7 separate regions of the Homo sapiens genome follow, and all the other regions are linked to region 4. The links are contacts of gene promoters, found by promoter capture Hi-C in blood cells and fetal thymus (Javierre and others, 2016). All regions are on one chromosome and are shown on one strand. Each heading gives the region's core, a stretch centred on a gene start or on the middle of the fragment in contact. The rest is flanking DNA. Distances are from core to core; before and after follow the strand shown. Region 1 overlaps PAPSS1 (3'-phosphoadenosine 5'-phosphosulfate synthase 1). Region 2 overlaps TET2 (tet methylcytosine dioxygenase 2). Region 3 overlaps CYP2U1-AS1 (CYP2U1 and SGMS2 antisense RNA 1). Region 4 holds the start of TBCK (TBC1 domain containing kinase). Region 5 overlaps CYP2U1 (cytochrome P450 family 2 subfamily U member 1). Region 6 overlaps HADH (hydroxyacyl-CoA dehydrogenase). Region 7 overlaps PAPSS1 (3'-phosphoadenosine 5'-phosphosulfate synthase 1).

The links. Contacts are between HindIII fragments. The CHiCAGO score rates a contact against its expected background, and 5 or more counts as called.
Region 1: a fragment that was not itself captured here is called in contact with the fragment with the promoter of TBCK in region 4 in 7 of 17 cell types (total B cells, total CD8 T cells, naive B cells and 4 more); the score reaches 19.2 in total B cells.
Region 2: a fragment that was not itself captured here is called in contact with the fragment with the promoter of TBCK in region 4 in 1 of 17 cell types (total B cells); the score reaches 6.0 in total B cells.
Region 3: a fragment that was not itself captured here is called in contact with the fragment with the promoter of TBCK in region 4 in 3 of 17 cell types (total B cells, naive B cells and naive CD8 T cells); the score reaches 7.2 in total B cells.
Region 5: a fragment that was not itself captured here is called in contact with the fragment with the promoter of TBCK in region 4 in 1 of 17 cell types (total B cells); the score reaches 8.3 in total B cells.
Region 6: a fragment that was not itself captured here is called in contact with the fragment with the promoter of TBCK in region 4 in 4 of 17 cell types (total B cells, total CD4 T cells, naive B cells and 1 more); the score reaches 8.5 in total B cells.
Region 7: a fragment that was not itself captured here is called in contact with the fragment with the promoter of TBCK in region 4 in 1 of 17 cell types (naive CD8 T cells); the score reaches 6.4 in naive CD8 T cells.

What each region holds. Positions count from the first base shown.
Region 1 is chr4:107,706,973-107,709,672 of GRCh38, reverse strand. The region is part of intron 1 of PAPSS1 (3'-phosphoadenosine 5'-phosphosulfate synthase 1); the gene reads left to right. Among named protein-coding and RNA genes, the nearest start is that of PAPSS1, 12 kb to the left of the region's middle. The HindIII fragment of the contact is 3,967 bases long and covers 1-2,700 here.
Region 2 is chr4:105,150,512-105,153,211 of GRCh38, reverse strand. All of the region lies in intron 1 of TET2 (tet methylcytosine dioxygenase 2), which reads right to left. All of the region lies in intron 1 of LOC124900868, which reads left to right. Among named protein-coding and RNA genes, the nearest start is that of TET2, 5.0 kb to the right of the region's middle. The HindIII fragment of the contact is 9,556 bases long and covers 1-2,700 here.
Region 3 is chr4:107,915,304-107,918,003 of GRCh38, reverse strand. The region is part of intron 1 of CYP2U1-AS1 (CYP2U1 and SGMS2 antisense RNA 1); the gene reads left to right. All of the region lies in intron 1 of LOC107986298 (a long non-coding RNA gene), which reads left to right. Among named protein-coding and RNA genes, the nearest start is that of CYP2U1, 15 kb to the left of the region's middle. The HindIII fragment of the contact is 6,871 bases long and covers 1-2,700 here.
Region 4 is chr4:106,314,769-106,317,468 of GRCh38, reverse strand. TBCK (TBC1 domain containing kinase) reads left to right here and starts at 1,260. Exons shown (of 26, transcript NM_001163435.3): 1 at 1,260-1,538. It overlaps AIMP1 (aminoacyl tRNA synthetase complex interacting multifunctional protein 1), which reads right to left and starts at 919. Exons shown (of 7, transcript NM_001142416.2): 1 at 875-919. RefSeq lists enhancers at 711-960, 1,451-1,510, 1,591-1,680. The HindIII fragment of the contact is 5,300 bases long and covers 1-2,700 here.
Region 5 is chr4:107,937,517-107,940,216 of GRCh38, reverse strand. All of the region lies in intron 1 of CYP2U1 (cytochrome P450 family 2 subfamily U member 1), which reads right to left. The region is part of intron 1 of LOC107986298 (a long non-coding RNA gene); the gene reads left to right. It overlaps LOC107986299 (a long non-coding RNA gene), which reads left to right and starts at 2,692. Exons shown (of 3, transcript XR_001741785.3): 1 at 2,692-2,700. The HindIII fragment of the contact is 4,462 bases long and covers 1-2,700 here.
Region 6 is chr4:108,000,056-108,002,755 of GRCh38, reverse strand. All of the region lies in intron 1 of HADH (hydroxyacyl-CoA dehydrogenase), which reads right to left. Among named protein-coding and RNA genes, the nearest start is that of HADH, 12 kb to the right of the region's middle. The HindIII fragment of the contact is 2,945 bases long and covers 1-2,700 here.
Region 7 is chr4:107,668,116-107,670,815 of GRCh38, reverse strand. The region is part of intron 5 of PAPSS1 (3'-phosphoadenosine 5'-phosphosulfate synthase 1); the gene reads left to right. Among named protein-coding and RNA genes, the nearest start is that of PAPSS1, 51 kb to the left of the region's middle. The HindIII fragment of the contact is 3,792 bases long and covers 1-2,700 here.

The DNA.
Region 1 (2,700 bases), core at 136-2,635, 1.4 Mb before region 4:
TTGAGAGTCAGAAATGCAAAAACCTGAAAAGACATCTCAAAAGGCCAATCTTAGGTTCTACAATAGCGATGTCATCTGCAGGAGTAACTGGGGAAGTTGAAAATCTTGTGACTTCTGGAATAGTGGCTGGTAATCATTTATGTTTACACCTTGGGAGGATTCAGGCTCCTCTCATCTCCTAACCTGGTGGTCTTTTATTAGCTTTAAAAGATGGTTTACTTTTGGGGAAGTAGTATTATCATTTAAACTAAAAACTAAATTTCTCCCAAAGTTAGCTTGACCCAAACCCAGCAATACCTAAGGGCAGTTTGGAGGTTAAAGGCAAGATGGAGGTTGGTTAGATCAGATCTTTTTCACTGTTAACAATTTTCTCACTTGTAATTTTTGCAAAGGCTGTTTCAATTCCAGTAGTTTTATAAAAGTGCTCTTTGATTTACTTTGAAAAATTGGGAGTTAGGACAATGTGGCAATTTTTTTTAAGTTTATTTTTTAATATGAAAAATATTGTTAAAAACTTTAGCTGAATTAAATTTAAAAGAGTTTGAGCAAAGAACAATTCGTGAATCAGGCAGCCTCCTGAGCCAGAGTAGGCTCAGAGGCTCCAGTGCAGCTGCATGGTAGAAGATTTATGGACAGAAAAAGGAAAGTGGTGCACAGAAAATGGAAGTGAGGTCCAGAAACAACTGGATTGGTTATAGCTCAGCATTTGACTTATTTGAACATGGTTTGAACAGTTGGCCACATTTGATTGGCCAAAACTCAGTCATTGGCACAAGGGTGGATACAGTCTGTTTGTCTCCAGCTAGGTTAGTTTAGTACATATGGAGAAACCTTTAGGCTGAACTTAAAATATGTAAAAGAGGTAGCTTTAGGCTTAACTTGATTTAACAATATCAAACATACATAAACCAAAAAAAATCTCCTTATATCCAGAGTACTATGTTTGCTGCCAGAATCTTTTTAAATGTAGGAGGCAAGAAACTGAGGGAGCATTCTTTTTAGAGATTAAAACAGACGGTCTCTACTTACCCTGTCTGTATTTTTTCTCAGCCATATTCTCAGCAGTTGATAGCTTGACAGATAATTTTTATGCATTCTAGCTTGATTTGATAAGAAAAGCAGAAGATATTTTACAGAGCCCAAATCAATTAAAATTCATTAGATATATGTTTCTTCTTGTCTATAAAGAGTGAAGTAACTTGGAAAAATCCTCAAACAAAATGACCAAGCCAAACAGGTTCTACCAGTATAGGCAGCAAAATGTGTATAGCACCCTCTGCAATTCCCTTTTAGCAGAGACTTTAGCTCCCTTTTCCTCCTTAGCCAGTATCAATGGGAGCTAAAGCTAAAGAGGTGCCACTGCTTCTCAAGATATACAAATGTCTACTTCTGAAGCCCTCTTTTTTAAGTTCTTGGAAATGTAGAGCTGGTAAGTTGTATTTGCTTCATCAGTTTATTGAAAAGAAATGAATCTAGAGACTCATTACAATTTTTTGTAAGTGATTATTAAATATGTAAAAGTATTTTATTGGAAATAAAGTATTAATAATTATTGTGTAAATAATTATTGTTAATGAGATGAGTAGATGGGAAGGGGTGCAGCTTTTGTGGCATACCTATTAAAAAGAGTTGTCAAATTGTCCCTTTGGTCCCAGAGGATTTTTCAGGTAATGGTAATGATGATAATAAGATTCAGATGTGTGGGAGATGGCATTTCTGCTGTACAGGATTGTGAAGGGGAAGGTAGGAAAAGAGATCCTTAATCTCATGGAAGTTGAAGATTTGTATAGAAATTTAATTCCTTAAAAGTCAAATCTGTGTATTGGTGGAGGTCAGCAAAATGACAGAATGGGACTTCCCAGTGCTTGTCTTCACACAGAAACATAAATTGAACAACTATTCTTGCACAAAAATACTTTAATAAAAGCTAAGGAAACCAGGTGAGAGATGACCGCACCTGGATGTAGCAGAGAAATCAGAAAAAACACATTGAAGAGAGTAGAAAGAACAGTTTTACATGACCTATATTACTGCCCCCAGCCTGCAACCTCAGGCAGCACGTGGAGAAAGATACCCTTTGCTTAGGGGAGGAAGAGGGCAGTAAGCAAAAGATTTTGCCTCAGAACCCAACACCAGGCCCACCTCAGTGAAACTCAGTGCAAGGCAGGCCCCCGTAGCCCCAGACTCCAGGATGGTACCTATGGATTGAGCGTCCAAGCCTACCCTGGTACTAAGCAGGATTCTGCAGCCCAAGGTTCCAGCTCCTCCAACCTCCACCACCAGGCCAGACCCAATTGATGCAAGTTTTAGACTTGTCTTAGGGCCAGGCTGGCCCCAGTGGCCCTGGGCTTAGAGCTACCTTTAGTACCAGGCTGGCTGTCACAGGCAGGCACCTGTGGATACAGGCTTCAAGCTGTCCCAGCTTCAGGCCCTCTCCAGGTTTCAGACCAGCTGAGAGCCAGGTTGGCCCACACAGCCCTGGGCTTCAGGTCTGCCCCAGTACAAGGCCATTCCCTGTAGCCCCACCCTCCAGGCTGGCTGCTGCAACCCCATACTTAAGAGATCCAAGGTTTCAGGACCATCCCAATACATCTCAGCACTATACCAGCTCCCATTGACCCAGGCTGTAAGACCATTTCTGTGGACCCAGGTTCCAGGCCAGCACCCATATGCTGAGCATCTAGGTCAGCTCCCATGGCT
Region 2 (2,700 bases), core at 80-2,579, 1.2 Mb after region 4:
TATGATATTATAGTTTTGCAAAGTGTTGCCACTGGGGGAAATTGAGCAAGTATACGTGGAATCTCTCTGTATTATTTCATACAATGGCATATGAATCTATAATTAACTCAAAAAATATTTCAATTAAAAATATATGATCCCATATAAGTTTACTAAAAACCATTCACTTTTGTGCTTAAAATGGGTGGCTTTTATAGGGCAATTGCCATAGCCTGTAGAAATTAAATGTAAGGAAAACACACCATTACTCCTACCATCATCACCATCACCAAGACACTTAACACTATTTTTCTCTTATACATTGAAAATAGATTAGACCAGGTGCAGTGGCTCATGCCTGTAATCCCAGCACTTTGGGAGACCCGGGCAGGCAGATCACCTGAGACCAGGAGTACGAGATCAGCCTGGCCAACATGGTGAAACCCTGTCTCTAATAAAAATAGAAAAATTAGCCAGGTGTGGTGGGGCACGCTCCTAGTCCCAGCTACTCTGGGGGCTGAGAAAGAGAATCACTTGAACCTGGAAGGCAGAGGTTGCAGTGAGCCGAGATCACACCACTGCACTCCAGCCTAGGTGACAGAGCAAGATACCGTCTCAAAAAAAAAAAAAAAAAGAAAGAAAGAAAGAAAGAAAAAGGAAAAGAAAATAGATTATACTTTTTTTTTCTAGTTAAATTGCATGGTTTTTCACTAGTTCTATATCATCCATTAAATATTGACTGAGAGGTCAACAGTAGGTTCTATTAGGGAATAGAAAGACATAGAAATCAGTGCCTACCTTCCAATAGACAAAAAAGAAATGTAATTTGAAAGAAACATTTGTAGTATTTTTAGTCAAACAACCAGTTCATTTTATATCCTAGACTGTCCTTCAAAAACACTTTATCCCAATTTATTCATCTCCTATTTATTATTATTATTTTTCTTTTTTTGAGGCAGAGTCTCTCTGCCTCGCCCAGGCTGGAGTGCAGCAGAGCCATCTCGGCTCACCGCAGCCTCTGCCTCCCGGGAGGGTTCAAGCAATTCTCCTGTATCAGCCTCCAGAATAGCTGAGACTACAGGCATGTGCCACCACACCCAGCTAATTTTGTATGTTTAGTGGAGATGGGGTTTCACCATGTTGGCCAGACTGGTCTCGAATTCCTGACGTCAGGTGATCCACCTGCCTCGGCCTCCCAAAGTGCTGGGATTATAGGTATGAGCCACCATGCCCAGGCTCAAGTGATTCTCGGGCCTCAGCCTCCTGAGTAGCTGGGATTACTGGTGTGTGCCACCATGCCCGGCTAATTTTTGTATTTTTAGTAGAGACAGGGTTTCACCATGTTGGCCAGGCTGGTCTCAAACTCCTGACCTCAGGTCATCCACCTGCCTTGTCGTCCCAAAGTGCTGGGATTACAGGCATGAGCCACCACAACCGGCCTCGTCTCTTACTTTAATTCTCAGTTTATTTGGAACATGATTTCAAGTCAGTTTAGAGGAACAACTTTCAGTGAGTATAAAGCATTGAGTTCTGAATTATTTTTATTTTTATTTTTATTGAATAGAGACAGGTATCTCACTATGTTGCCCAGGCTGGTCTAGAACTTCTGGCCTCAAGTGATCCTCCTGCCTTCCCCTCCCAGAATGAGCCACCACACCTGGCCTGAGTTCTGAATTCTTAAAACTGCAGGTAGGATGATATTATCACTGAATTTATTTTTACATATATTATATATTGAAAATATATATTATCTATATCTAATATATATTATATTGAAAATCCACCTACTATCTGTTTCTTCTTTTTGAAGTATGACACATTTAACTACATGTCATTACAAATGAAGAAAACATAAATCAAAGCTGATAGAATGTGCTTTTTTGTTTGTTTGGTTTTGTTGTTGTCGCTGTTTGAGATAGGGTCTCTCCCTCTTGCCTGGGCTGGAGCGCAGTGGTGTGATCAGAGCTCACTATAAGTTAGAACACTTGAGCTCAATCCATCCTCCTATCTCAGTCTCCTGAGTAGCTGGGACTACAGGAATGTACCACCATGCCCCACTAACTTTTTAAATTTTTTGTAGAGACTGGGGCCTGACTGTGTTGCCCAGGGTGGTTTCAAACTCCTGGCCTCAAGTGATCTCTCACCTTGGCCTCCCAAAGTGCTAGGATTACAGGCATGAGTCACCACGCCCATCCAAAATTTGTTATTTGGAATGGACAACCAAATATCTATTCTTTTGAGAAAAAGATTATATATCTATTTTAAGTCAGCAAGTCTCTGCAATGTACAATATAGGACAAAAATAATGCTGGAAATAGCAGACATACATAATTCTTTTTGGATTGTAGTCACAGTGATTCACATGCTCTGACTTTCCCCTTTCCCTCCTGGAACCCTTCTCTCCTACTATATACCAAACCAACAGATGTACTGCATAACCTCCTTCAATAATGTCACAGTATTCACTCAGTTTTGGCAGTGAGTAGAAATAGAAATTGGAGATCTAGACCAAGTAAATACTGTATATTTGGCAAAATCATTTGTGGTTGTGTTCTTCAGCACAGTTTCCCAGATAACCACCAGCTCTACTTGGCAACTGGTCTTTCCCACAGTGAAGGCTCCAATTGTAAAGTTGGCTTGGGAGATATTCTATTGCTGCTGGCTTTGGTACCATTACTATCCTTAAGAACTACTGTGCAATGGTAGAATAATCATTGACAA
Region 3 (2,700 bases), core at 147-2,646, 1.6 Mb before region 4:
GCTTTATTCTAACAAACTTGTGGGTTCAGACACTCGAGGATTCTTGAGGAGTTCTTTTGCCTTCAAGGCCATTTTGCACTAGGAGCCAACTTTTCTCCCCTTTGAAATTAGTAAATTGTAATTTTAAGAAAAATCTGTAGCATGTGACAAAGAACCTGTCCCAAGGACAGTTTGCTTCTGAAACTAATTTCCTAACAAAACCCTAACTGTGATGGTGACCATAGTAATTACGACAGGGAGGCAGCAAGCTACAGCCCACAAAAACAAAACTCAAGTTCTAGCTCTAACATTTATGAACCCTTTCATGTCATAAAATGGGGTCACCTTCTCTTGCCTTGCTTACTTCACAGGGTTTTGTGAAGATTAAAGAATGTATGCCAAGCGTTAACTGTAAAATGCTATGTTTGATTACAGGTGCCACATATGGATTAAATGTGCATTTTATATATATATATATCTATATACATACACATAGTAATACATAATCCATTACTATCCTAACTTAGATTAAAAAATGTATGCCAAGCGTTAACTGTAAAATGCTATGTTTGATTACGGGTGCCACATATGGATTAAATGTGCATTATATACATATATCTATATACACACACAGTAATACATAATCCATTACTATCCTAACTTAATACAGTATTATGCTTCTGATATTCTTATTTATTAGAAGAAAATAAAATTTACATGTCAATTCGTGAAGCATCTATGACTTTACTTACAAGCCCACAAGTTAGCCTGTTCCTGTTTCATTGGATGCTAGAAGACACAAGACTCCTGAGTCAGAGACAAAGGACTTCACTACACATAGCATAGCAGTATCCAAAGTGTCAGCATGGTCCCTTTGGCTCCCTTGTCTCTCAAATCCCATGGGGATGACTTGGAGAGGTGAAGACAGATGTTACATATGCAGTGGGTTTTCACCTCAACTGAGGACCACTGAGCTTCGCATTTTTACTGCTTTACAGTAAACAGAAAAAAAGACTTCTCTTTATTTAGGGTGATATGCTACCTCATTACTTAACATTGCTTACTGCAAATACAATCCTGAGAAATGGCCTGGGTAACAGGAGTTAGGGCCTTGCACTCAGCATGCCCAGCAAAAAATGTGCTGGATGGATGCTCAGAGCCCATGGCACATTACCTCTCCCAACCTTTGGATGAGATAAAACATGACCTCTCCCAACCTTTGGATGAGATAAAATATGACCTCTCCCAACCTTTGGATGAGATAAAATTTGATGTCTATTGTGCAATTTTGCTAAAATATTAAATAGAAAAGAATGGTAAAATTCAGTGACAATGCATCCAGAAAAGCAATTCACTTCCACTTCTGAAACATCTAGCTGGCTATGAAGGCCCTGACCAACATTTCCTAAAACTTACAAACATTTCCTAAGACTTGCATATATTTTATGCAATTGAAATTCTTATGATGTGACTTAGGAGTTATGGGCGAGTCTTATAGTGCAGACATTTCCACTTAAATGTCAGGAATTTTATGTATCAGCAGCTCTAGTGTATGGCACACAGAATCACTCAAATGGTTGGTGAACATAGTCTAGTTTCCTGTCTTCCTGTGTCTCAGCAGGAGATTCAAAATATCAGGGAAGATGAATATTATCAAAAGTTGTGGCGACCTCTTAATAGCATGATCATCTGGAGAGACTGAAGGCATTACGCAGGGTCAAGACTGTAATGACCTGCAATCAAAAAACCTTACAGACTTGAAGCTGAGTCTGTCGTTAAGTAGACATATAGATCATATAGATACTTTTCTATCTTTAAATGTGGTGGGGATGAGATGGGGGTTGAAGTAAGCGAATTTAAATTCACTTTCTAGTGAGACTAGCATCTAATCCTGGTGGCAAAACTTGTTTGGACACACCACTACATTCTAATTCTAAAATCAACAGCTGTGAGGTAGAGATCTCAAACCAAGCATGAATGATCACCATTCTTTTTTGTTTTAAAGTGGTTTTAATTACTTAGGAAACTTGCCCATGATTAGTGTGATTGAAAATGCCACTTTAACTGCAGTTGTAAAGTGCCTATTGATTCCTTATTGGAGTAAGAGACAGAGTACTACTTTAAAAAACTTCACTATCCTCAGTACTTTCAAAAATGCCCAGAGAGTTTTATCCTCTCGTAGGAGGCACACTCAAGAGCTTTTGTATGAAGAAAACAAATGGAACCCAGAATGAATTAGCCCCTTAGTAAAAGTTCCTGTTAGTCCCTTGCACGATGAACAAGAGTTCACGTTAGTTTCTTGCACGATGCATTCTAGATAAGGGCAGACTTTGAAGCTATATGGCCAGCAAAATCAGCATGCCAGTGTTTCCACAGGATGATGGGAACGTCACTGTGATGAGCTTTTCATCCAAGGTCTGGGTGGAGGTGGCAGAAAAACTATTCTGATCTATGCTCCATCATTTCTAGATAATCTAAGGATAAAGCCTGGACTATCTCCTGTAACTTACTCTTTGAACCTTATTATCTTATCCTATTCACTTCACCCCAATGAATTGCTTTTACAAAATTTATCTTGGAGGAGGGGCATTTGTCATCAGCAGATTCAAAACCTACTTACCGCACCTTGCTGTTGCAATGTCTAGCAAACTCCAGTTGAGGATATTACCTTAGGCTTCTGTCTTGTGAAGGCATAAGGAGACCTAGTGACAGAAAGGGGTC
Region 4 (2,700 bases), core at 11-2,510:
TGACCCTCTTAAAAGGAAGTCAGAGCCCATCACTCTACTGCTCAAAACGCTCCAAAGTCCTATTTCATTTAGAATAAAAGTTAGATGTCCTCAAGATCTTCATGACCTGCTCGCCTTGATTTAATCTCCAGTGAAGGACTAAACCCTTCACTCAACTCTGCCCTACAGGCCTCCTTGCTATTCTAGCACGTTTCTGCTTCATGACCTCTGCAATGGCTGGTCCCTCTGTCTGACTGCACTTTCCCAAGATATTCGCGTGGTTAAATCTCCCACTTCTGTCAGCCCTTTACTTAAAAGTCATCTTTTCAGCAAGACCTTCCTGTGTCACTTTATACCCTTCTTCCCTGCTTTACGTTTCTCTTCAGGACTATCACGACCTAAAATACAGTATGTTTCTAATTACTTTGCTTAGTATGTGCCTTCCTCTCTAAAATGTGAGCTACAAGTAGACACAGATTTCCGTCTGTTTTGTTCACTGCTGTTCACCTAATGCCTAGAACGGTGTCTGGAATAGAGTGGGCGCTTAATAACTATTCGCTCAATGAATAAATTCCTGTCTTCACCCTCCTCTCCCCCAAAGCACCTAAGTCCTTTGACACACACATTCACATAACAGTAAATACGCTTAGGGATCGATATTTTTCTGTAGCATTCTTAACTTAGGCCTGCATCCCATTTCTCAAACGTGGCTCCTTTAGAAGGAAGTCTCAAACTCTTTCCTGTTTCCTTAGGCCAGGGCTGGTCCTGCTGCGAACGGACTACCCATTAGCAGCGCAGGCCAGGTCCTCTCTCCTGGAGGCAAGTTAGAGAAGGAAGACCCCTACGATCGCAATCGGCGATCCCCGAGTGAGTGACCCGCCACGACGTCACTCACATGAAGCGGAGGACCACGGGTTCCGAGACAGCCACAGCAGGAAGCATGTAGGTCCAGCCACCCGCGTACTATAGCAGTGAGAAAGGACCCAATGAGGTGTCCTTGCTGAAAGCCTGAGTGTTCTACAGATTCAACCCTCAATTCTTTCTTCCTCTTCCTGTGCTCAGTCCCATTAACCTGCCATACCACGCTCCTCGTCTTCCATTCCCTCACCCAGTATTTTCAATCGACCCCCCCCGTCCCCCCGCACCTCTTTCTCTCTCGCTATATGTCCTTTCGTGGCCAGTTTGGGCAAGGGGAAGGACACCACAAGTCGGGGTCTTTCCTCAGCGTTGGGTCGCGGTGGCTGTGAGGGCGGAAGAAAAGGCCAGGCTGAGGGGAGGGTAGAGGGTGAAAAGCTCGGATCTGTGTTTGGGGAAGGCCAGGCTTGCGCTCCTCGCCGGGTTCCGCGAAGGTTAACCTTGGCTGACTTGGCTCGCGAGCAAAGGGCAGCGTCTGAGCTCCCGGCGTTCCAGGAGTGGCCTCTTTTGTAGGAGCACCTGAAATGCAGCGTCTGGTGCACTAAGCCGTAGCGGCAGCAGCAGCCACAGCGACAGCGCTGGGGCCCTGTGTAGAAGCTCCATCCCCCTTGTCTTTGTGCTTGCCTGCGTCCCCAGACTCAGAGGCAGGTATTTGGGTAATCCAGTTTTCCGTGTCGTAGTGGGTGGGGTCTGTGGGAGGTAGAGGACTATCAGGAGCAGTGAGTGGCCCCGCATGTCTTCAGAATAGATAGAGAACCGAGCTGTGGAGCCGCTTGCTGATAGGTACTGTCTCCATCCCTAGCTACAGCCCGCCTTTCCTGTAAATCAGGTTCACCTGAGTCGTTTGGGAACCGTAGGCTTAGTAATCGCTCTGTCACTGCCTCAAAGGAAGGCTAAAGGAGGTTAGAGAATCTAGAATCCGCCCCTCCATTACTCACCTTGGAGGCAGAATTTTGCTTTGGTTTGTTTCTGGCCCTCGAGGTTTAGTCAGTCGTCAAAGTGTAACACCCCCTTGAGCAGTAGGAGAAAGTGAAGCAGAGGAAGGAAGTTACTTGAGGATTGTCAGTGGCTGCTTTTCAAGGATCCCTGTCCTGGTTTCTATCTATTTGAGACAAAAATAACCTCTTGAGAGAATGTATATATAAAATAAATGAATTAGTATCATTTTCCTGTTGAAGAAATGTGAAATTTTATTCATGATAAAATCGGCGTCTTTTGCCCTATTTTTTACTTTCTTTCCCCATTCGAGTCGTTTAAAACTCTAAGTTCTTTGAGGGCACAGAGTCTGACTTGTTCATTATCCTTTGCCCACCAGCTGGAAAAACAACTGACTTAAAATAGGGGCTTCAAAATATTTGTTGAATGAATGAATTTTCAAGCCCAACTGCTTGCACTGCTGTTTCCCTCATCTAATCTCTCATCTCTACGTTTTTTTTCCCCCGGTAGTTTTCTTCCACTCACGAGGTGTAAGTGAATGTATGTGTGTGTATTTTTGTGTGTGAGCCTTTTTATGTACAACCATTTAAGAGGTAGTGGAAAAAGAACACTGATTATGCTAATTAGTGTTTTATCTTTTTCGATCATTGTGTTTTATTTGGTTATTTTATTTTCAGCTATGTGATGATAAAGACATCTGATTGAAAATAAAATGGTCGGGCGCGGTGGCTCACGCCTGTAGTCCTAGCACTTTGGGAGGTCGAGGCGGGTGGATCACCTGAGGTCAGGAGTTCAAGACCAGCCTGGCCAGGATGGTGAAACCCCGTCTCTACTAAAAATACAAAAATTAGCCGGGCGTGGTGGCGGGCG
Region 5 (2,700 bases), core at 17-2,516, 1.6 Mb before region 4:
TTCCAGCTACTCGGGAGGCTGAGGTGAAAGGATCACTTGAGCCTGGGAGGTCAAGGCTGCAGTAAGCTGATATCACGCCAATGGACTCCAGCCTGGGTGACACAGTGAGACTCTGTCTAAAAAAAAAAAAAGGAAAAAAAAGAAGAAATGGCAGCGTCAAGTATATAGTTGCCACTTAGAGTAGGGGTAGGAAAACATTTTCTATGCTAAGGTCCAGGCCAAGATAGACAAATGTCCTTGTTTTCTTTTGTCGGTGGCCAGGGTTGTTGAGTGTTCTCTGTCAAACTTTCACCCAGTTGAAGCACTTCAAGAGTTCTGTCTTTGTCTAGAAGCAACTTTTCATTTTGCCAGGCCATATCTCTTCCCCACCCCCCATCCCCCAGCCAAGGCTCTCTAGATCATCTACCTACTATTTTCTGCAGGGGTGGGGGCAGTGATAAGGACCTGATCTTATTTTATGTGCATTCCAAACTATCCTTGTTCTCAGTCTACTGGCTCATTTCTGTCTCCTATGATCACTGGTACCTCCAATTTCTAACCCGTTTTGAGATTCTGCATGGTAAACTAGGGGAGTAGTTCTCATTCTGTCCTCTCATACTCCACTGGCATTCCCCTCTGTAGATGCTTAAGTGTAGTCATCCTCCACTCTATTAAGTCATTTGCCAATCATATAGCCACTTTGTCTTCAGATGTTGTGGTGCAGAAATGTAGATGTGTCATTTCATTTCAATGTGGATAGAGTGTGTTCTTCTGTTCAACATTCCTCTGGTATGGTATGTGATTGTTGAGACAAAGAAGGAATGGAAATGTCTTAACCACTCCTGAAACCAGAACTCTCCTTTTGTGTAATAAAGGCCCATAAACTATTTCCTAGGCTACAAAAGTTTAATCATTCCTCCTGTCTTTAACCATGACCAAGTCTTCTGCTGCAGAGTATTCAGAGGCCAAGTGTTGGTGGGCCTCCTCTTCTCTTGGATAGATATGGTCTTCCACACCAGCTTCAGGATTTGATACCAATCCCACCTACCCTCTCTCCCTATTTTTATTTATTTTTTTGAGACGGAGCCACACTCTGTCACCCAGGCTGGAGTGCAGTGGCGCGATCTCGGCTCACTGCAACCTCCGCCTCCTGGGTTCAAGCGATTGTCCTGCCTCAGCCTCGAGTAGCTGGGACTACAGGCGCATGCCACCACACCCGGCTAATTTTTGTATTTTTAGTAGAGATGGGGCTTCACCATGTTGGCCAGGCTGGTCTTGAACTCCTGACCTCAGGTGATCCACCTGCCTCGGCCTCCCAAAGTGCTGGGTTAACAGGCATGAGCCACCGTGCCTGGCCCTCTCCTTATTTAATATATCATATATAGCATCTCTGCTTTGTCCTATTTATCAAAAAACATTATTTTTCCTTTGTTAGGTCCTCGATCTTATCATCTAACCATTTTTAAACTACAAATTTGTATTTTAGAAATATTTGGTCTAGCAAAATGGCTCCGAAGCAAAAATCAGGACTCTTTTGCTTCAGAATAACAAAAATATACCCTCAAGCTAGTTCATCAAACAGGCCAGTTAGGCTATGGAATGAACAAACAGGAAGGAAAGGGTATTGCCACCTCAGGGAATACTGTCACAGAACTCTTCCTCCCTGTACCTATTTTTCCCTCCTCTCTCTCTGACTTCATTCTTTCCAACTGCAAACCAGCTTTTCAATGAAAAATGAGCTATCCTGAGATGCCTATTTTCCCAGTTTCACCACCAAAAGGAAAAGCCCTCTATTTTCTAGATTCAACCTGAGAAATTCTGGGGAAGGATTCAAATGCTTCAGTAAGGTGTCCTGCGGTGATACCAACTTGAGATAACTTAAATTTATTTTATGGCTTGAGGTTTCTAACTATGCCATGCTATTCTTATCCCAAAACTATGTGAGGATTGATGTATAGTTGTGAATTGTTGAGTTCTGTGCCTGGCCTACAGATTAACCAGTTACAAAAAGGTTAGAAATTCTGATCAGTCTACTTTTGGTCAGTATGTCCCTCAACTTACTTATCACTGTGGCCAAGAAGGTGAGTTTATGTAAAGATATGGCATCTGCCGTTCAACCACAGTTAAGGGTAAAAGGGACTGAGGTCAGAAAAAAGGAATTCCTCAGAAGAAGCAGGTATTCTTGTCCAAGGAACAGGTGCTAGACAGTGGAAACATAAAAATCCAACTCAAACCAAATAAAGTATAGACTAAATTGACATTGATACATTCTCACAAACAGATATTATACAGCTCCTAAGAACTTTACAGGAGAATATTTAATAATATGAAAATATGCTCATAATACTTTAAGTGATAAAAAGCAATTTTTAAAATTATGAAAATTATTCCATTTTAAGGAGGCAAATATATTTCTAAAAATACATGTACATGGGCCAGGCACGGTGGCTCACGTCTGTAATCCCAGCAATTTGGGAGGCTGAGGTGGGCGGATCATGAGGTTAGGAGATCGAGACCATCCTGGCTAACACAGTGAAACCCCCTCTGATAAAAATACAAAAAATTAGCCAGGTGTGGTGCAGGCGCCTATAATCCCAGCTACTCAGGAGTCTGAGGCAGGAGAATGGCATGAACCTGGGAGGCGGAGCTTGCAGTGAGCTGAGATTTTGCAACTGCACTCCAGCCTGGGCTACAGAGCAAGACTCCACCTCAAAAAAAAAA
Region 6 (2,700 bases), core at 71-2,570, 1.7 Mb before region 4:
GATCATCAGCATGTTCAGTGTCTGGTGAGGGCTGTTCTCTGCTTCCAAGATGGTGCCTTGCTGCTGCATGCTCTGGAGCAAAGGTCCCCAACCTTTTTTGGCACCAGGAAGACATGGGAGACAATTTCACGGAAGACAATTTTTCTACCGTCTTGCAGGGAAGAGGGGATGGTTTAGGGATGATTCAAGTGCATTACATTGATTGTGCACTTTATTTCTATTATTATTACATTGTAATATATAATGAAATAATTATACATCTCACCACAATACAGAATTAGTGGGAGCTCTGAGCTTGTTCTGCTGCATCTAGATGGTGCCATGTGGGGATAATGGGAGACAGTGACAGATCATCAGGCATTAGATTCTCACAAGGACACGAAACCTAGATCCCTCACATGCACAGTTCACAATAGGATTCATGCTCCTATGAGAATCTAATGCAACTCTTGATCCAACAGGAGGCAGAGCTCAGGTAGCAATGCAAGTGATGGGGAGCAGCTGTAAATACAAATGAAGTCTTGCTAGCTGCTCACATCCTTCTATGTGGCCCGGTTCCTAATGGGCCACGGACCAGAAGTTGGGGACCCCTGCTCTGGAGGGGACGAGCACTGTGTCCTCATATGGCAGAAGGGAGAAGAGGCAAAGTTGGTCTCTCAAGCCCCTTTAAATGGCACTAAGCTGTTCATGAATACAGAACCCTCATGACCTAATCACCTCCTAAAGGCCTTATCTCTTAATACTGCTGCACTGGGGATTCAGCTTCGACATAAATTTTGGAGGGAACACAAACATTCCTATCAGAGTAGCTTCTTCCACCACCACTGCTGCATGAAATTAGATACAGTTGGTCCCCCCTTTATCTGTGGTTTTACTTTCTGTAGTTTCAGTTACCAACAGTCAACTATGGTCCAAAAATATTAAATGGGAAATTATAGAAATAAATGATGCATGTTTTAAATTGCATGTCATTCTGAGTAGTGTGATGCAATCTTGAATTGTCCTGTCTGGGAGGAGACTCATCCCTTGGTCCAGCATATCCACACTGTATACTACCCAATCCATTAGTCACTTGGTAGTTGACTGGGTTATCAGATCAAAAAGACATAGTATGTATAGGATTTGGTACTATCTGCAGTTTCACGCATCCACTGAGGGTCTAGGAATGTACTCCCTCCCCTCGTAAGGGGGGACTACTGTAACTTATCAATGGTCTACTAAATTGCTAAAGTCAATGCCTGTTCTTTGGCTTCATCTTCTACAACAGCTCTGTACATTGCCAATAAAAGTTTCATTTTTGAAACTCTTCAGTTTCTTATCTGTCTGTTCCTTTTAGCCATATTAATTGACCTCTCTTGATCTTCTAAGCCTATAAACAAGGACTTCCTTCAAGGTTCTGTTTCCAATATAATTTCCTTCTGAAATTCCAATCGTTCTCATACTTCCAACTGTGCCTGAAACCAAAATAATCTATCTAAGCTGCAGTTATCACCTTGACCCTAAAATCAATTCTCCTTGGCCTTCATTACTGGTACCACTATTCTGTAGGTCACCATTTTCTGGACAACACTTTTTCCTTAATCCCAACCATTAACTGCTGTCCAGAAATGTTCTATCCATTATTCAGGCCCATTTCAAATGCTACCCTCTCCATGAAGCCTTTTTCCAAATGAATGTACTTTCTATTTTGAAACCTCAGAACTAGATTTTTACTGCTCTTATTGTACTACTTTACACCAAAGTAAACTGTGTCATTTAGATCTCTGTCTAATCTCTGCTCTTAGATTTAAAATCCCTTAATGGCAGAAATTGATTTGGTCTTTGTAGCCCTTAGTACTTATCACATGCCTTGAATATGATAGCTGGTCAATAACTGCTAAATAACAAATGCTTTGGACGGTAGTAACCCGATTCTGTAGTCTTCCCCAGCCACACCACACGTCTCCCTCCTCTGTGCTATCTCATGGCTCTGTGCCCTTGTTCATGTGGTTTCCTCTGCCATACATGTCCGGCTCCCTCATTGCTGCTTCATGGACTTCAACTTACCCTTCATAATCTAACATGGACACCATCTCTCCTTTAGTGAAACTTCTCCCAACCCTTAGTAGAGGTAATCACTTCTTTTGTGCCTCTAGTGATTTGCAGATACAGCAGATCTTTTGTGCAGGAATTCAAATACTGAAAGAAAATAACTGGGTGTGGCGCTGGTGTGAACCACCAATGGCTGCTCAGTTATGTAATGGCAGCCCAGTCCCCAGGATGTGAACAGAACAGAGAAATAAAAACTTAACTGGTTATAGACTATTTCATGTCATAAGAATCTCACCGATTTCAGAATAAAAGTTATTAACCAACCAGAGCATAGGAGAAATCCCAGATGTGAAAGATGAATGATACACTTGAAATAGAAAAGCTAACCATACCAACCTTTTCTTCTTTAAAAAACTGATATGTAATAGCTGTACATACTTTTGGGGTACATGTGACATTTTGATACCTGCCTAAAATGTGTAATGATCAAATCAGGGTAACTGGGATATCCAACACCCTAAACACTTATCTTCTCTTTGCCAACACCAACTTTAGATGATGAAATCAAGATAGTACGGAGAGACCTTTCAAAAGTGCTGTTGCATCATCCACTTCAGGTTGTCAAGCTGCTGTTACCACAAATCCCAATATAGGGTGCTTAGGAACACT
Region 7 (2,700 bases), core at 15-2,514, 1.4 Mb before region 4:
TTGTAATCCCAGCACTTTGGGAAACTGAAGCAGGAAGATTGCTTGAGGCCAGGAGTTCAAGACCAGCCTGGGCAACATAGTGAGATCCTGTCCTTGTCTCCAAAAATTTTTTTTAAAAAGTAGTCAGGTGTGGTGGCACATCCCAGATACTCAGGAGGCAGAGGCACGAGGATCTCTTGAGCCCAGGAGTTTGAGGCTGCAGAGAGCTATGATTCTGCCACTGCCCTCCAGCCTGGATGACAGAGTGAGACCCTGTCTGAAATAAAAAATAAATAAAATAAAATGCATCAATAAAAATCAAATAAAGAGGAAAGATGATTTGTGTTCACAGTTCTTCATAGTTTGGTTCCATGCTGCATATTTTCTTATTTATTGTCCTTATGAAGTTCACCGTAGTATTTTCTTTCTTTCTTTGGTGCTATTGCTTGTCTTATCTCTGTAGTCTTAGTTAATGCCTTCCTCCTAATTTATTTGTACCTAATTAATGACTATGCTAATTGCTCTTCCTTGTATATGGATACTAATCTGTATTATGCTTGCTAGACAATCTGATGATTGGACAGTTTCATTCAAGGATATTATCCTTGAAAAAGAAGGATAGATAAGAAATTAACATTTGCTGAGTCCTTATTATAAGGGACATATTTATAGTATGTTGTCTTTTAAAATAACTTGTTCTGTTTATTTCAATTGGAGGAAAGTGACCTTTTTTCCTAATTTAGCTTCCAACTGTCTCTCACCTGAATTACTGTGGTAGTTTTCCAAGTGGTCCTTGTGCTAAGCTCTTTTCATATGTTGTTTGATTTTATTCATACAGTAAACCTTTGAAGTATTTCAGAGAAATGAAGAAACTTGTTCATGGACATGTTGGATTCTGCATCTAGAATTTCAGTAATTTTCTTATACCTCTGGCTTTTACTTTCAGGAGTGTTCTCCTTACACTTAAGTGAGATGTAATTAAATCTACATCCAGAAAGGGATTCTGGTTATGTTCATTTAGGAGAGAGAAATTTTCTTTTGAAAAACTGTTAATTTTTATCTTAAAGGTGGGTGGTGACAAAAGAAGAAATGCAAATGCCTCCTTAATTTGATAGCTTTCTTTTGGTATCACCCTCCTTTTCAATATTTGTTACATGCTTTTCTGAATAAATGACTTCACTTCCCAATGAAAGCACGCATATTTCTCTGTTGTACTTAGTTGATCTTTTTAGTTAATTTAACAGATAGTTAATGCTATATGTGGTAGGCACTTTTGTGGACACTGCGGATGTGGCAGTGAATTAAGCAATAAACATTCCAGCCTCATGGACCTTAATTTTTGGTCTTCACCACTGTTATTTTGTTTATAGTGTATAGACTAGAATGAGCATATATAGATTCATTTATTTCTCTTCTTTTATACTATGATGTAGAATTTAAAAATGCAATTGAGGAAGAAATACACATAGACACACAACTATATCTGTCTTTTATTTTCTTTTGGTTGTTTTTCTCACTAAGTTGAATCCCAGTGGGCATTAGGGCACATGGAGAAACCAGTGAATACCTGACATTCAGCTCAAAGTTCATCCTTAGAAATGCCAGTTGTGCATTTGCCCACTGTACTTCATTGCAAAGTGACTTGCTATAATGTGTACTTTTCATATCAAACTCCCTCTATCCAGGGGTAGCAAATTCAGTTCATTTAACTTCATTGTTATCACAAAGACATTTGTTAGGTTTTCCAAAGGTGGGCTATGGGAGGACACATAGTACAATCTAAATATAGATTGGGAGGTGAAGGGGATGAATATATCAAGTACCATGTTGCTTTAAAGCAAGGAATAATAACCAAATTTATGTAGCTTTAGAGTATGTGTTTGGAGTAGGGAGGTGAAGGTTAGGGGTCCTACATTAACCAGCATTATGTAAAAGAATATATAAATGTGTGTGCTGAAAGCGAATGCCATGGGCAGTATATTAGGGTTCTCTAGAGGGACAGAACTAATGGAATATACGTACATATATATGTGTGTGTGTATATATATTTTATATATATATGAGTTTATTAAGTATTAACTTGCATGATCACAAGGTCCCACAGTTGGCCATCTGCAGGCTGAGGATCCAGGAGAGCCAGTCTGAGTTCCAAAACTGAAGAACTTGGAGTCTGATGTTCGAGGGCAGGAAGCATCCAGCACCGGAGAAAGATGTAGGCTGGGAGGCTAGGCCAGTCTCTCTTTTCACATTTTCCTGCCTGCTTATATTCTAGTGATGCTTGTAGTTGATTAGATGGTGCCTACCCAGATTAAGAATGGGTCTGGGTTTCCTAGCCCACTGACTCAAATGTTAATCTCCTTTGGCAACGCCCTCACAGATGCACCCAGGATCAATGCTTTGTATCCTTTCCATCCAATCAAGTTGACACACAGTATTAACCATCACAGGCAGAGATGGAGACCATCAACAGTAACTTACCAGTTGAACTCTTACTGTGTGCTAGGCCCTGTGTTAGGTACTGCAGTGGCATTATTGCATCTAATTTACATTGAAATTGAGAAGTATTTATAATTATCTTCATTTTGCTGATAAGGAAACAGATTCCAGAGGTGAAGTTATTTGTCCCAGATAGTTCAGTTAGGGAGAGGTTTGCACACAGTTCTGATTGATTCTGCAGCCTACACACTCAATGTTTCTACTACTCTGCCTTTACTAGTATTT